2 separate regions of the Homo sapiens genome follow, and region 1 is linked to region 2. The links are contacts of gene promoters, found by promoter capture Hi-C in blood cells and fetal thymus (Javierre and others, 2016). All regions are on one chromosome and are shown on one strand. Each heading gives the region's core, a stretch centred on a gene start or on the middle of the fragment in contact. The rest is flanking DNA. Distances are from core to core; before and after follow the strand shown.

Evidence for each region. The method cuts DNA at HindIII sites, captures the fragments that hold promoters and counts their contacts. A CHiCAGO score of 5 or more calls a contact.
Region 1: a contact is called between a fragment that was not itself captured here and the fragment with the promoter of TERF1 in region 2, in 1 of 17 cell types (endothelial precursors). The highest score is 7.2, in endothelial precursors.

What each region holds. Positions count from the first base shown.
Region 1 is chr8:72,315,278-72,318,292 of GRCh38, reverse strand. No RefSeq gene overlaps it. Among named protein-coding and RNA genes, the nearest start is that of KCNB2, 220 kb to the left of the region's middle. RefSeq lists an enhancer at 1,453-1,502. The HindIII fragment of the contact is 697 bases long and covers 1,088-1,784 here.
Region 2 is chr8:73,007,409-73,010,257 of GRCh38, reverse strand. TERF1 (telomeric repeat binding factor 1) reads right to left here and starts at 1,394. Exons shown (of 10, transcript NM_017489.3): 1 at 1,053-1,394. The coding sequence starts at 1,371. RefSeq lists silencers at 1,449-1,498, 1,529-1,628. The HindIII fragment of the contact is 9,695 bases long and covers 1-2,849 here.

The DNA of each region.
Region 1 (3,015 bases), core at 187-2,686, 690 kb after region 2:
CACTCTGTATTGCTTAAAACATATAATGCTGAAAGTGCATGTTAAATCTCCAAAATTGGCAGTGGTAAAAAATATGAAACATACATAATAGTGAAAACGTATGAACCAAAACATTGATTTAATCAATGTTTACTGTGACTATGTAAATGCCAAGCCCCACTGTTCTAGGCACACGATATAAGGTGGCAAACAAAGACAGTTTTCTAGGCCTGACAGAATTTACACTCAGTGAAAGACTGAGAGTAAAAGAATAAGCATATATTTACAGGACATGATTTCAGGGAGACACAAGTGCTGAGAGGAAAAGCAAAGTAGGCCCAATGGAGAGGGACTAGGTGGGTTGACAATCTGGACAGCCAGGATGTGAGGAGAGGAAAAGGCTGTCTTTATAGTTAATATTTTAGCAAAGACAGTAATGATGTGAAGGAGTGGGGCAGACAGAGATACAGGGAGGAGCATTCCAGGCAGAGGGAACAGTTCCTGAGATGGGAACAGATTAGTGCACTTGAGGACTAGCAAGAAGGCCAGGGTGGCTGCAGAACCACTTAGTAGTAGGGGTGCAGTTGGAGATTGCCAGAAGCCAGATCAGATAGGGAGCAATTAGCATTCATCAATTATCAATTAATAAGCATCTCTGCATCAATGTTTTCATTCTCAACTTCTTCCTTTATTTAATACATTAGAAGCACACTAAAAACCATAGAATAGAAAAAAAAGGAAAAATACCACAAAATTTGAAAATGTCTACAAACACTATGTTAATACACAACATGCCGCAAGGACACGAGTTTCCAGTTAAATAAGCAAATAATTATATTGAAGATAAACGTATCTCAGCATGAGAACATTTTACTTTTAGTTGAATATTTAAGTACTGAGTTAAATGTTTCATATTACTAGTTTCTGGATCATGGATTGCTTTGCATTGGTTCTTACTAGAAGTGTTAGCACTGTACTAGTTTCCAGATGTTAAAAAACTTTGATCATATGCATGGCCTTCTAGAGAAAAATGAAGGTAAATACTATAGTTTCATGTATTTCTGAAATATTTAGAGATAAAGAGGAACTTCTGCGGAATATTTAAGCTTGTTGTTTCCCAAAATGCATCTCCATGAAGCCTGAGAATCTGTCAGTCTTATTACGTTAGGAAAATGTAAACTACTTTAAGGATTTAAACTAGAAGAGATATAATATAGTGAATGACTTATAAAGTGATTAGGAAGGCTGAAGAACAAAAAGGAGAAGTAGGGGATGCTAGAGGGATTTTTTTAAAAAGGGAGAGAAATGAGAGTAAAAGGTCAGAAAGCAGCTAGTACCCCTAACTGGAACCTATGTGTTGCACTTGATTTTTGTGCTGTGGGTAGCTCTGCAGCTGCCAGCACTGGAAATGCTGAGAAGCTATTCTTTCTGACAACGTTGGAATCAAAGAGTGGTCACCAAGGTAGTAGAGTCACCAGAGAGGTGGTGCACTTCCTAGGCTGCTGGACTCACAGCAGCCCACCCCTTCTTGCACTGCCTTCATTGCCGGCAACTGTCACTACTGTCAGAGCAAGAACCACACAGGTTCTATTTTCTGGTCTCCTCCAATGCCTCCCATTGGCAGAACAAACAGGAAGCCAGCTGGCAAAGGCATCTGGGAAATGTAGTTTTCAATTCCCAAGCCCAGCAGCATTGATCAAAGAATAGAAATGTGTGGGAGCTAAGACCAAACAGAAAAATAACCAGCCCAGCCCAACCATTTGGCTAGTCAATATTCAAACACTGCCTTTACCCACATTTAAGCTTCCAGACAGCAATAACACCCTCTTTATGCTTCCACCTAGTATGATGCAATTAAGCCTTGTACAAGTGAAGATGGTCTTACCCCCTCTTAAAAACAAGCTGAGATACAAAGATCCACCAATCATGTTATTCATCTCTTGCTCAGGCACAATCTCATCTGATTATTCTGTACCCAAGAGTCCAAATTATTAAGTAAACCACCACAGGACTCATAATATAAAATTGTAATGAAAAGAAAGGAGATTAGCTAATATTTATATATGTGAATATAACAAGTGCATTATTTACCTATTCCTGTATAGCAAATTACCCCAAGATGTAGGAGCTTAAAATGAAAAAACATTATCTTTCACCAGTTTCTGAGAATCAAGAATCAAGAAGTGGCTTAATGATAGTTCTGGCTCAGGGCTTCTCATAAAATTGCAGTCAAGATGTTGGCCAAGGCTGCAGTCATCTTGACATAGTTTGGCTCTATGTCCCCACCCAAATTTCATGTTGAATTGTAATTCCCAGTGTTGAATGATGCGCCTGGTGGCAAGTGCTTGGATCATGTGGGCAGAATTCCCCCTTGCTGTTCTCATGATAGTGAATGAGTTCTCACAAGATCTCACAAGATTGTTTAAAAAGCTGTAGCACTTCCCTCTTCCCTCTCTGTCTCCTGCTCCACCATGGTAAAATGTGCTTGCTTCCCCTTCCCCTTCCATAATGATTGCAAATTTCCTGAAGGCTCCCAGGCATGCAGGAGTATGCATGGAATGTACAGCCTGCAGAATTGTGAGTCAGCTCGAGCTCTTTTCTTCAAAAATTACGCAGTCTTAGGTAATTCTTTATAGCAGTGTGAGAATGGACTAATCCACATCTGAAGGCTGGACAGGAGCTGAAGGATTCATTTCTAAGGTCATGCACATGGTTGTTGTCTGGAGTGTTTAGATCCTTGCCATGTAGGCTCTTCCTTGGGACTCTTCATGACCTGGTAGCTGGCTTCTGCCAGAGCAAGAGGTGAGAGAGAGGGAGAAAGAGAGAGAAAAAAAATGAGAAAAGAGAAGGGGAGGGAGAGAGAGAGAGAGAGAATGGAAATACCAGGAGTCAGGAATCACTGGGACTTTCTTGGAAGCTGGCTACCAAGACAAACAAGAAATAAAATATACATGGCTGCTATAATTGTTTCCGTAACATGTCATAAGGCTGAAGTTGATATCTATAACTTCCTGTCCCACTACCCTTTCTCTGTTC
Region 2 (2,849 bases), core at 145-2,644:
CTATCAGTACCTTAAAACTAAGATTATTTGCCTAACTCACAGGATTATGGTGAAGATGAAATGTGTCAAAATGTCTAAGAATTCTATTAAATAGCATAATTATAGTATTATAAATATATACTTGCACAGTAATTTTAGCGCCAACTATGAATGAAGTACCAGAACATCTTTCTGTTGTTTTTCAAAAAGCTACACTAGGCCAGGCGCGGTGGCTCATACCTGTAATCTTACAGCTGCGGGTGGTGGTGCACGCCTGCAGACCCAGCTACTCCAGAAGCTGAAGCGGGAGGATACCTGAGCCTGAGGAGGTCGAGCCTGCAGTGAGCTGTGATGGCGCCACTACACTCTCCAGCCTGGGTGACAGTGAGACCCCATCTTGGGACGGGGGCGGGGTGCAGCAGATTTCATGAACAGTTTCATTCATTCATTTATTTATTCATACAGGGTATCACTCTGTTACCCAGGCAGGACTGTAGTGGCACGATCTCGACTCACTGCAACCTCTGCCTCTTGGGTTCAAGCGATCCTCCCACCTCAGGCTCCCAAGTAGCTGGGACTTGCAGGCATGTGGCCAACATTTACTTTTATTCTGAGACTACACAGAATAAAAGTAACTGCTGTAGAGCCAGCAGGCCAAATGAGATTTAATAGCTCACAAATTAACATAAAACACTGATGCCTCGGGGGTTACTGGAGGCCACAGGGACTGCTGAATATTACTACAGGAATACCTGAGTAGAAAGCGCCAAAAGAGACAAAGGTACTGGGTTGAGTGGAACTGTATACATTTTAACTCATTTAATGCTTGCATCAAACCTAAACAGGGTCTTATTTTCATTTTATCGAAGAGGAAATCAATCTGAGAAAAACTCAGGTGCTGACAACGGGCGAACCGGGATTCGAACAAAGTTCAGCCCGGAGCCTCGGACTCCCAGCTAATCGGCCGCAGCAGCCCCTCCCTCGGCGACGTAGGGAACCAGCCCTCTGCCGCGCACCACGGAGCCCGCATCCGCCCCCCGCGTAGTCCCGGCCCGGACGCGGTCTGCACTCACCCTCTGCGCTGTTGCGGGTCCTGCGGAAGTCCTCGGAGCGGCCGTCGCGGAAAGCTCGGCAAAGAGAGAGGCAGAGGAAATCGAGCATCCAGCCGGCAGCCACGGCCTCGGCCTCGGCCACCAGGCCCGCGTCCTCCTCCTCCTCCTCCTCCTCCTCGGGGGCCCCCACCTGCACCTGGCACTCGAGCAGTTCCTGGCATTCGAACTGCTCCTCGTCGTTTCTCTCTGTTTCTGCCATCTGCTCCTCAGTAGGGTCGGCATCCCTACCATCCGCACAGCCCCGCGGGCTCGGGGCCGCTGAGGAAACATCCTCCGCCATGTTAAATGGCTCGCTTGGGTACTGCCCCTTCAGGCGCCGAGCAACGATTGGCTCGCATTCGAGGGCTCGGGGCGTGGCCGCGGAGAGTCTCTTCCGCCGGCGGGACATGGGCGAGCGGTTCAAGCCTGGCTTCTGATTGGCCGACACCTGTTCCGGCTTCTGATTGGCCGACACCTGTTCCTGCCTCTGGGCGTTGAATTTGCCGCCAGTCTAGGGCAGGGCTTTGTAGGTAAACCGGACGACTCCATACTGAGCGAGGAGCGAGATTAGGATAGGAGGAGGCAGCTTTATCTTCCTTATTCCTTGTAAAATGCAACCTTGACTGGAACAACAACACGGTTATTTAAAATGAAAACGCATTTGCCTGCAGCCTATTTCAGAAAGAGATGGGTAATGAGAACTTGTCACTATTAGACAAGCGTAACACTTTTAAACCCTAGTTTTCATCTAACAGTTACTACGTGATCACGAACAACAACTATTACAACTGACAATATCCATGCTTCTCCAACCTTAAGATGCATCAGAATCAGCCTGGGGGCTTGCTAAAACACAAATTGCCGGGCTCCACTCCCAGAATTCCTGTTCTGCTGGTCTAGCTTGGGATCCTTGAATTTGAAAGTCCAACGCTACTTGGCTGGGCACCACATTTTGAGATCAGTGCTCTAGAAAGAGTATACTATAATGGAAATGTATCTCAATCAAGGTTTGAGATCGACTATAGAATGCAGTTTGTAGAAAACAAGTGAATGCTTATTTTGAATTTTGAAACTTAGCACAAAAAGAAATTCTAAATGGGGATGGGTGGTCTGGTTATTGTTTTTGTTTTTTGTTTGTTTTTTTTTTTTCCTTTGAGACAGGATTTCGCTCTGTTGCTCAGGCTGGTCTCCAACTCCTGGCTTCAAGTTATCCTCCTGCCAAAGTGCTGGGTTTACAGGCCTGAGCCACAACGCCTGGCTCCGTTTTCTGTTCCTTGATGTGGGTTCACTTTATGAAAATTCACTGAACATCGTTTATGCACTTTTCAGTATGTGTGTCATAATTGAATAAAAAGTTTATTTTAAAAGCCTTTCTGTTTATAACGCATCCAGCATCATCAAAGCCTTTCCACATTTTCACACACTTCTTGTTATTGTCTTTAAGGTGGTACAGTTTAAGTGTTGAGTAACTAAGGCACTGTATTCTAGTATTAAGAATGCTTAGGTTGGAATATTCCCTACCAGTTACTCACTAGCTGTGTGACCTTGGGTAAATTACGTGTCAGTTTTCTTGTCCGTATAATGTGAATAATAATAATACCTGCACGATTAAAGGGCTTGGTAAATGTAAAGAGTTTAAAACAGCCGGGCGCAGTGGCTCACACCTGTAATCCCAGCACTTTGGGAGGCTGAGGCGGGCGGATCACCTGAGGTCAGGAGTTCGAGACCAGCCTCAACATGGAGAAACCTCGTCTCTACTAAAAATACAAAATTAGGCGG